Linked DNA regions of Homo sapiens: regions 1 and 3 are each linked to region 2. Evidence: promoter capture Hi-C in 16 types of primary human blood cells and fetal thymus (Javierre and others, 2016). All regions are on one chromosome and are shown on one strand. Each heading gives the region's core, a stretch centred on a gene start or on the middle of the fragment in contact. The rest is flanking DNA. Distances are from core to core; before and after follow the strand shown. Region 1 overlaps DYNC1LI2 (dynein cytoplasmic 1 light intermediate chain 2). Region 2 holds the start of BEAN1 (brain expressed associated with NEDD4 1). Region 3 overlaps DYNC1LI2 (dynein cytoplasmic 1 light intermediate chain 2).

Region 1 (3,604 bases), core at 269-2,768, 320 kb before region 2:
AGTCTTTTGCTTCCTTTTTTGGACAGTGTGGTTACTGTGGAAAGAGCTGTGGCTTTGGAGCCAGGCAGAACTCGTTCAGAATGCCATGCCTGTAGTCAGTAGTTGTGTGGCTTTGGGTAACTGACTTAACCACTCTGTACTTGAGTTTCCTCATTTGTAGAATGGGGTAATGGTGCCTATACAAAATGATACAGGGTGTATCAGGTGTAACAGTGCTTGAGACATGGTGATAGCTCTAGTACCCTTTTGTTTCTTTTGAAAGTGTAAAACATGATGTAGGTAATCTGTGAATCTCTATAGCCTCTTCTGTTTCAAGATACCATAAGCATATTTCATGCCAGAGCATCGTGTTGACCACATTTATTTGCCTTTAAGTATATTTTAACTTATATACAGATTTTTTTAAAGTTACCTTAAAAACTTCTTGGTCTCTGCATTTATTGGATTTTTTTAGGCCACCCGCTTGCAAGTTCCTGTTTGATGGAAGAATTGCCCTTATCTGTTGTTAATGGTACATTTTCCAGCCCTAGTCTTTCTTACTGTGTGATGTGATTGAGTTATAAATATACACTTTGCAAGCAGTTACCCAGGTAGAGAAAACAGTCTCTGGCTTGTACCTAGTTTGTGGTAGGATGTGACATGTCAAAGGACCTCTGCCTCCAGGTTTGGGGGCATCTGTTTAATGCTACACGTGGTGTGATCTCCAAGCACATGGGTGAGTTACGTGTAGTGGGCAGTGGGGAGAGAGGCTGAAAAAAGGAACCATGCCTGTGGATGGGTAGGCATTAAAACCCACAGACTTTGGGTACAGAGTAGTATTTTTGAGGACATTCACAGAACCCAAACTAAAGCCGCTAAAATAGAATTTGAAAGTATTGCTAGATTTAGATACTTTATACTGTTGACACAAAGCCATGAATATAAATTTTTTTATAGCATGTTAATTGCTTATACAAAAAAGTTAATAAAAGATAGGTTTTTTTTTAAGTATATTTTTCTAAAAGAGGAAGATTGGGTTTTTTTGTTTGTTTTGTTTTATTTTTTTTCTTTTTTTGAGACAGGGTCTGGCTCTGTCATCCAGGCTGGAGTGCAGTGGCATTATCTCAGCTCCCTGCAACCTCCACCTCCCGAGCTCGAGCAGTCCTCCCTCCTCAGTCTCCCGAGTAGCTGGGACTACAGGTACATGCCACCAAGCCTGGCTAATTTTTGTATCTTTTGTAGAGATGGGGTTTTGCCATGTTGTCCAGGCTGGTCCTGAACTCTTGAGCTCAAGTGATCCACCCGCCTCAGACTCCCAAAGTGCTGGGATTACAGGCGTGAGCCACCAGGCCCTGCTGGTTTTAAAGTATATGTTGGAATTTATTGAAAAAGAAGCTAATAGGCCGGGCGCGGTGGCTCACGCCTGTAATCCCAGCACTTTGTGAGGCTGAGGTGGGCGGACCCCTTGAGCCCAGGAGTTCGGGACCAGCCTGGACAACGTGGTGAAACCCCATTTCTACTAAAAATACAAAAATCAGCCAGTATGGTGGCACACAACTGTAATCCCAGCCACTCAAGAGCCTGAGGCATGAGGATCGCCTGAACCTGGGAGGCGTGGGCTGCAGTGAGCTACGCCAGTCTAGGCACACCCCTACACCACACCACTACACTCCAGTCTAGGCAACAAAGTAAAACTCATCACAAAAAGAAAAAGTATTAATAGTTAATAAAATATTTTTGATGATAGTTCTCAAGGTACTTTTATAAAACATAGTTCTGCCGGGCACGGTGGCTCATGCCTGTAATCCCAACAAGGCTGAGGCGGGCAGATCACCACAGGTCAGGAGTTCGAGACTAGCCCAGCCAACATGGTGAAACCCGGTCTCTACTAAAAATGCAAAAATTAGCTGGGCGTAGTGGTGCACTCCTGTAATCCCAGCTACTCAGAAGCTGAGGCAGGAGAATCGAAGCCTTAGAGTAGGAGATTGCAATGAGTTGAGCTTGCACCACTGCATTCCAACCTGGGTGACAGAGGGAGACTCCATCTCAAAAAATAAAAATAAATAAAAAATAGTTCTCAAAAGATAACTGAAAATTTCTAAAAATACATTATAAATTTGGCCGGGCATGGTGATTCATGCCTATAATCCCAGCACTTTGGGAGGCTGAGGCGGGCAGATCACTTGAGGTCAGGAGTTCGAGACCAGCCTGGCCAACGTGGTGAAACCCCATCTGTACTAAAAATACAAAAATTAGCCAGGCGTAGTGGCACGTGCCTGTAGTCCCAGCTACTTGGGAGGCTGAGGCAGGAAAATCGCTTGAACCTGGGCAGCAGGGAGGGGTGGCGGCGGTTGCGGCGGCAGTTGCAGTGAGCCAATATCGTGCCACTACACTCCAGCCTGGGTGATAGAGTGAGACTCCATCTCAAATAAATGAATAAATTTGGAGAATTGTCTTCGGCAGTTAGATCATCCTGGTATTCATTTGGAACCACGTTTCATTACATCTTAGCACTTGCACATTTGTGTGAATCTATTTTAGTAGAAAACAAAAAATATATACAAAGTAGAGAGTGGTATCATGAACCACAGTGTACTTGTCACCTTGCTTCAACAATTACCAGTTCTGGCTGGGCGCACTGGCTCAGGCCTGTAATCCCAGCACTTTAGAAGGCCGAGGCAGGAGCATTGCTTGAGCCTAGGAGTTTGAGACCAGCTTGGGCAATATCAGGAGACCCTATCTCTACAAAAAACTAAAAAATTAGCTGGGCATGGTGGCTTGTGCCTGTAGTCCCAGCTACTTGGAAGGCTGAAGTGGGTGGATCACTATCCCAGGAAATCGAGACTGCAGTTGCCACTGCACTCCAGCCTGGGTGTCTCAGACGCTGTCTCAAAAATAAATATACAAACATACATAACCAGTTCTTGATCAATTTTATTTCAACTGTACTTTTACTCTTTGCTCTGTTTACTCCCCACTAGATGATTTTGAAGCAGATTTCAGACATTAAATTTTATCTATGTATACTGCCATAAGGACATCTAAGATAAGAATTTTTTAAAAACATAACCATATTATTATCATAACAAAAAATTACTAATTCCCCAATATAATTAGGCGTCTGGTAATTCATATCTCAGTTTATGTAAGTGATGATTTTATCTTCACATTTAAATACAAAGGTTCTGTCTCTTTGGCATCCTTTATAGTATGTGAATGCATTGTTTAGTGTGACCAACACAAGAAGGGCTTGTTTAAACATAGGCTCTTCAGCACAGCTCACTGCTTCACTGATTGCTGTTACCTTAGGATGATGGATTATTTAGGTTGTGGCACAGTTGACCAGTGAACATTAGTATCTTTTGGTTTTTATTGAAAGCTAAGAGACTCTCACCCTTTTTTTTTTTTTTTTTTTTTTGAGATGGAGTCTCACTCTGTCATCCAGGCTGGAGTGCAGTGGCACGATCTCGACTCACTGCAACATCTGCCTCCCGGGTTCAAGTGATTCTCCTACCTCAGCCTCCCAAGTAGCTGGGATTACAGGCGCCTGCCACCATGCCCAGCTAAATTTTGTATTTTTAATAGAGACAGGTTTTACCATGCTGGCCAGGCCGGTCTTGAACTC
Region 2 (3,159 bases), core at 660-3,159:
TCTAGGCTGTCTCCCTGGTGCTTCTTGCTGCCTGTCTGAACCGTCACCATCGGTGTGTCCAAGCCACCTGACAGCCTGATGGCTCCTCAGGGAAAGCAATCCTCCACCCGGGAGTGGAGGGAGGTGTTAAATTCCCTTGTACGGAGCTCGAGCAATGGGTGGGTGCCCCTCTCTGGGGCAGCGGACATCAGCTAAGGGCAAGGAGGAAAAGGGTGCACCTTACAGTCAGATGCAGCCTTTTCACCCTGGAGAGAGATGGGAGGTAGCAGGGGAGAACTGGGCTGGGCGGTAGAGAGCCTTGGAGGAGGGAGCGTCTGAGAAAGGGTGGGCCCTAAGGAGAAAGTTTTGCTTTGCAATTAAATGTCAACAGCTTGGGGAATTCAAAGGCCTCCTTGGAGGGGGCTGGGAGCACCACTTCAGATTCAGAGGCACTGAATCTCAGCATCTACTGGTGCTGGACACCTCAGGACACCTGTAGCCCACCACAATTGGCCACTGGCTGCGTGCCAGGCACCAGGCTACATACCCTCACCAGCATCATCTCATTTAATCCTCCCAACTCACCTTCCCCATGTTCCAGATGGGGAAACTAAGGCTCAGAGAGGTTTGTGTCTTGCTTAAGGTTGTACAGCCAGGAAGTCAGCCAAGCCCACCTTCTGGTTCCAAATCCCTTAAACATCCCGCTCACAACAGACTCCTGCTTACTTTCAGATGAGGAAACTGAGGCACAGGGTGGTGAAGTCTCTCGTTCCAGCAGAGCAGTTATGTTTGAGGAGTGAGTCCAGAGCGGCATGCTCTCGGCAGGGGCTCATCGGAAATCGTGGCTCAAGAGCAAGGATCCCTGAACCCCTGCCTCTCACACCAGTTACTTGCGCCCTCCCTTTCCCAGCCTGCGCCCCGCCACCCACGCCGGCACCCGCCCGAGATGGACAGGGCAGTCCCTGGTCCTCACCGCTCTCCAGCCTCCAGACCGCAGAGCCCGATAGGGAAGGAGGAAGGGCAGCGAGAGTCAGCCGGGTGTGGGGTGGGCCCTGCCCCTGGGGAGCGGCGGCGGTGCCACTCAGCGCTGCGCAGCCAGCCTGAGCTGCCTGCCGCCTCGCCTCGTACTCAGCCTCGGGTCCCTCTGACAGCGCAAGGGAAAGTCTGTCCCAAAGTGGGAGAAGGTGCGGAGGGCGCGCTCTCTCTCCGACGCTCGGTGCTGAGACAGAGGCACGGAGACAGGGGCATACCCCAGGCGACCTGCTCGTCGAAGGGTCAAACTTCCTAGCTCAAAGGGGTGCGGGTGGGTTCAAACTCCAAACTCCGTGAAGCCCCAGCCCCTTTCCTCTCCCACCCCGACCGAGAGTGCGCCCTAGTTTTCCCTTCTTGGTTGGGTTGTTCAGGGGTCCCCGAAACCGAGGGCAAGCTGCTGGGGAGGCTGTCTTGGGTTCCCCAAATGCGGTTGATGCTCGTCGGGGACTCGAGTCAGGCAGAAAACCTGGATACCTCCCCTTCCCCGAGGCCCGAGGGCGCGATCAGGGTCAGCCTCGGCTCGCGCAGATCCCAGTGGCCAGCCCGGGGTCGAGGGTCCGCGGGAGACCCGGGATCCCGCTCCGTTCCGAGCGCGCTGCGGTTCCGTTCCGGACCGCGCATCCGCCCGCCCCGCGCACCGAGGCTCCGCGCGGCGCGCCCCCGGGTGTGTCGTTCGCCGGTACCACCGCAGAGCGCGGGGGAATGGGGCCGGGACCCCCCGCCCGCCCCTCCCCCGCGCCGCCCAGCCCCACGCCCCTTACTCGGCTTGGCTGCAGCGCTCCGCTCCGTGCGCCGCAGTGCCGGCTCCAGCTTCGGCTCCAGCTCCGGTTCCCGCCCCGGCTCCGGCTCCCAGTCCGGTTCCCGCTCGGAGGCCACTGCGCTCGGGCTCGGGCGTCGCGGGGGGCGCGCCGCTACGCTTCGGCCTGCTGGGCGCGCAGGGGCGGGGCGGGGCGGGCCAGGCGGGGCCAGGCGAGCCGGGCCGACCAGCCGCCCGCGATCCCGGGCCGAGGCAGCGGCGGCGGCGGCTTCCCAGGCCCCGGCCCTGGCCCTGGCCCTGCCCTGCCGCAGCCCCGCCCGGCCGCCCGTCGTCCCCGCGCCGCCGCCCACGCCACCGTCACCGGCCCCGGCCCCCCTCGGCGGCGGCGCGGCTCCCGGGCCTCAGCACCGCGGCGCCGCGGCCCGGGTCACTCCGAGATGCGGGGCGGGGGGCGCGGGTGCGGGGGAGGGCCGAGCCGCGCCCCTTTGCGCACAGCCAGCCCGACACCCACACAGCAGCAGGCGGGGCAGGGCGGCGAGGAGGCCGGGAAATGCGGGAGGCCGACGCTCCAGTCAGACGTGTGAAGAGGACACACAGGCGTGTGTAGGGAATGACACACGGACGCGAGCGGGGAGCCACTGACACGTGCAGAGAAGGGTAGACAAACGAGGTGTCAGGGAAGGACAGCCAGACAGGTTGGACCGAGGCTAGGCTGGGCATTTGAGCAGGGGACCCCTGTCGCGGGCAAAGAGCAAAGTGCGGGATGGAGAGGGGGACCCAGCGTGGCTGGGCCGCTGGCAGGGGCAGGCGAGCCTGGCAGGGCTTCCCGCTCGCGGTTGCTGGCAGGTGAGTTTTGGGATTCCAGCTAGGCCTGGCCCAAACCTTCCTTCGGAGCCACCAGCAGGCCTGTTTCCTTCACCCCGTCACCCTCCCTGTGCCCCCGTTCCCCGCTGCCCAAACGTCAGGGCATAGGGCTCAGCCCTGGCAGGTGGAAGCCGGCCCCGAGGGGATGCCTGGCTCAGGCCGGGGTTCCAGGCTTCCAGGACCTGCTCTGTCCCCACCCTGCTTTGGGGCCTTGGACGAATCCCAGCCCATCTCTCAGGCCTCCCTGTCCTCATTAGGATATTGCTCCCAATGATTGCACCCCTACTGTGTTGGGGTGCTCGCCAGCGTGGAGGAGTTATTTATTTAACCTCCGCCACTTGCCTGGGAGCGCCAGGAGGGCAGCGTCTGGGTAGGGCTGCAGGGGTCTGCACAGAGTGGGCACTCAGTGAATTTGCTGCAGGAATTGATGAAATGTGTTGTTGCTAACACTCTCTGAACCACTACTGTTGATGAGGAAACTGGGGCTTAGGAGGCAAGGGGAGTCAAAAGCTGGGTTCGTTTCAAAA
Region 3 (3,403 bases), core at 826-3,325, 290 kb before region 2:
GTGGCTGAAGATAACAGCCAAGAATTGGTCTTTCCTAAAAATGCAACAGATAATGCTGCTAGATTGTTATTTTGTTTGCACTTTTTTTTGATTGGCATTTTAAAATCGGTATTTAAACTGAAGACATTGTCATGTTTTATTAATTTAACAAAGTTGAAAGTGACTGCTCTGTACATCATGACCTTAACAATGTTAATGCTGTAAGTGAAAGTTCACTGTCGTCTGTATACTAAATTTATTGGTGTTTCTAACTTAAAAGTAAGACTGCAGATTATCCCCCACCAGCCTTAGTCCAGGGGTGTGGCTCTGTCCGGGTGCAGTATGCAGTCATGTGGAACCTTGCTTTCTAGTCCTGGGAAAAAAAGATGTCTCTAATTACTGGCTTCAATAAACACGAATCCAGACTGCTTACAAGTTTTGGTGGCTTTCTTTATGGTGAATCATCCCACTGGAGATACATTGAATTTTCTGCTAATCATATGGGGTATCTGATCACATAACTAAAAATGTTTACCTGTCTCACTTGAAATTGTCAGAAATTCTGGAAAGAATAACATTGTAAAGCCATATTTATTTTATCTTATTTTTTAGAGCTGGGGGTTGTCAAGTCTGGTCTTGAACTCCTGGCCTCCAGTGGTTCTCCCGCCTTGGCCTCCCAAAGTGCTGGAGTTATAGGTGTGAGCCACCACACCCAGCCTGGTTTTTTTGGTTTTTAAAAATTACAACCATCCTCATGAGTATGAAGGTGGTGGGTATCTCAGTGACTAACGATGTTAAGGAGCATCTTTTGATGTGTGTATTGGCCATTTATATATCTTTGGAGAAATGTCTATTCAGATTCTTTGCTCATTTTAAAATTAGGTTATTTGCCTTTTGTGTTTTTTGTGTTTGTTTTGAGGGTCTTGCTTGTGTCTCAGCCTCCCAAAGTGCTGGGATTATAGACATGAGTCACTGCACCCAGCCTATTTGACTTTTTATCATTGGGTTGTAAGAGTTATTTATGTATTCTGGATACTATACTCTTAACAGATATAACTCTTTCCTTTTGATATGCTCCCCTTAATCTCTGAGCATTTTCTTACTTTCTGGCACAAAAAGGTGTTCCAGGCTCACCTTGCATTTTCCCTGACTTTGACCTGGAATCAGCCGTTTTTCCAAGGAGTCCTGGTTCCTGGTTTCTTTTTTTCTTTTTCTTTTCTTTTCTTTTTTTTTTTTTTTTTGAGACAGTCTTGCTCTGTTGCCCAGGCTGGAGTGCAATGGTGCAATCTCAGCTCACTGTAACCTCCACCTCCCGAATTCAAGTGATTCTCCTGCCTCAGCCTCCTGAGTAGCTGGGATTACAGGCATGTGCCACCACGCCTGGCTAAGTTTTATATTTTTAGTAGAGACGGGTTTCGCCATGTTGGCCAGGCTGGTCTCGAACTCCCGACCTCAGGTGATCCACCCTCCTCTGCCTCCCAAAGTGCTGGGATTACAGGTGTGAGCCATCGTGCCCGGCTAGAGCCCTGGTTTCTTTTAGTGGGAGATTGGTTTTTGGAAACCAAGATCTGGACGATAGGCATACTTAATTTTACTGAGTGCTATTACTTGTAGGCCTTTTGAGTGGACGCACCATGTCTACTTTTTCACTTAGCATTCCCTGTAAGTTGGTTTATATTAGTTCATGGAGATGTTTATTCTTGTTTATGGCTACATCCTATTCAATTGTATAATGTACCTTGTTTATTCATCCAGTCTCCTGCAGATGGGCATTTAGGATGTTTGCAGTCTTGTATTATTACATCTAATGCTGCAGTGAGTAACCTTCTGCATATCTTGTGTTTTATTTTGGAGATGTGTCTTCAGGGTAAATTCTTAGCAGTGGGCCTACCTACTCAAAAGGTAAATGCGCGTCTGTGGTTGTTAGATATTATCAAAATCCCTTCCATAGAGGTCACACCAGTCTGCGTGCCTGTCAGCACTTGTACAGATTATTAATTCATTGTTACATTTTGTCTTAAAATTAAGTTAGGAAGTTTGGTGAATAAATGTGTTGAGGATTATTTTATTTGATAATACGGGCATTAACATTGTAATAGTAAACGCTTACATTAGAGATTGCTGTATACCAGTCACTTCTATTTTTATTTATTTTATTTTTATTTTATTTTATTTTATTTTTGAGATGCAGTCTCGCTCTGTCGCCCAGGCTGGAGTGCAGTGGCACAATCTCGGCTCGCTGCAACCTCTGCCTCCTGGGTTCAAGCGATTCTCCCTGCCTCAGCCTCCCGAGTAGCTGGGACTAAAGATGCACGCCACTACGCCTGGCTAATTTTTGTATTTTTAGTAGAGACGAGGTTTCACTATATTGGCCAGACTGGTCTGGAACTCCTGACCTCAGGTGATCCGCCCGCCTCCGCCTCCCAGAGTGCTAGGATTACAGGTGTGAACCATGGCGCCCAGCCACCAGTCACTCTTCTAGGTGGTTTATACAAACTGATTTAAACTTCACAACAACTCTGCTGATGTCCATCTTAGTTTCCAGATTGAGGAAATTAAGACATGGATAAGGTAAGTAGCTACTAAGGTCCCAGAATTTGAACCCAGGCAGTCTAGCTTGAGTTTCAGCTAATCATGGTGGTATGCTGATACTCTGTGCTCATTTAAAGCAGTTGGGGGCCTGCACACGGTGGCTTACATCTGTAATCCCAGCACTTTGGGAAGCTGAAGTGGGCAGATCACGAGGTCAGGAGTTCGAGACCAGCCTGGCCAACATGGTAAAACCCCATCTCTACTAAAAATACAAAAATTAGCCAGGCATGGTGGCACAAGCCCGTAGTCCCAGTTACTCAGGAGGCTGAGACAGGAGAATCACTTGAACCTGGGAGGCGGAGGTTTCAGTGAGCCGAGATCGCATCACTGCACTCCAGCCTGGGCGACAGAGTGAGACTGCGTCTCAAAAAAATAAATAATAAAGCAGATGGGGAAAATGTATCAATCGAGAGTGTTTTCATCTGTGGTCGTAAGCAGCTGTGTGCTGCTGTTCAACCTTTTCCCCTTGCCATGATGGATGGAAGAGTCACTCTTGCTAGGTGGAGAGAAATGGCAGATAAAGTACCCAATATCCTCTACAAAGGGAGAAGGGGCTGCAGTCGCAGGTATCTTTCTGGGAAACGCAAATTGAGGTGTCTGCCACTCCTAATCTTGGAATTTCCTTTCTCTTAAGGTATGAAGAGCTTTAGGTGTTGCCTGCGGCAGGAGCCCTTGGCAGGCTCTGAGACAGACTTTCACCAGTGCAAATGTTCCTAGGTGTGCCTGTGAGGCTAGCAGGCTGGCCTGCCTCTAGACCTGCCTTAGGGGCCCTTACACACACCACTAACCTCTCTGGAATTCCTCTTCTGCCACCTCTGGATTGGGAGCAACC

The links. Contacts are between HindIII fragments. The CHiCAGO score rates a contact against its expected background, and 5 or more counts as called.
Region 1: a fragment that was not itself captured here is called in contact with the fragment with the promoter of BEAN1 in region 2 in 9 of 17 cell types (activated CD4 T cells, naive B cells, total CD8 T cells and 6 more); the score reaches 10.0 in activated CD4 T cells.
Region 3: a fragment that was not itself captured here is called in contact with the fragment with the promoter of BEAN1 in region 2 in 13 of 17 cell types (naive B cells, activated CD4 T cells, total B cells and 10 more); the score reaches 15.6 in naive B cells.

What each region holds. Positions count from the first base shown.
Region 1 is chr16:66,743,354-66,746,957 of GRCh38, reverse strand. The region is part of intron 3 of DYNC1LI2 (dynein cytoplasmic 1 light intermediate chain 2); the gene reads left to right. Among named protein-coding and RNA genes, the nearest start is that of DYNC1LI2, 6.5 kb to the left of the region's middle. RefSeq lists a silencer at 146-346. The HindIII fragment of the contact is 6,912 bases long and covers 1-3,604 here.
Region 2 is chr16:66,426,045-66,429,203 of GRCh38, reverse strand. It overlaps BEAN1 (brain expressed associated with NEDD4 1), which reads right to left and starts at 1,909. Exons shown (of 5, transcript NM_001178020.3): 1 at 1,773-1,909. RefSeq lists an enhancer at 481-1,081. The HindIII fragment of the contact is 13,321 bases long and covers 1-3,159 here.
Region 3 is chr16:66,717,904-66,721,306 of GRCh38, reverse strand. DYNC1LI2 (dynein cytoplasmic 1 light intermediate chain 2) reads left to right here. Exons shown (of 13, transcript NM_006141.3): 13 at 1-414. Among named protein-coding and RNA genes, the nearest start is that of CMTM4, 23 kb to the right of the region's middle. The HindIII fragment of the contact is 6,892 bases long and covers 1-3,403 here.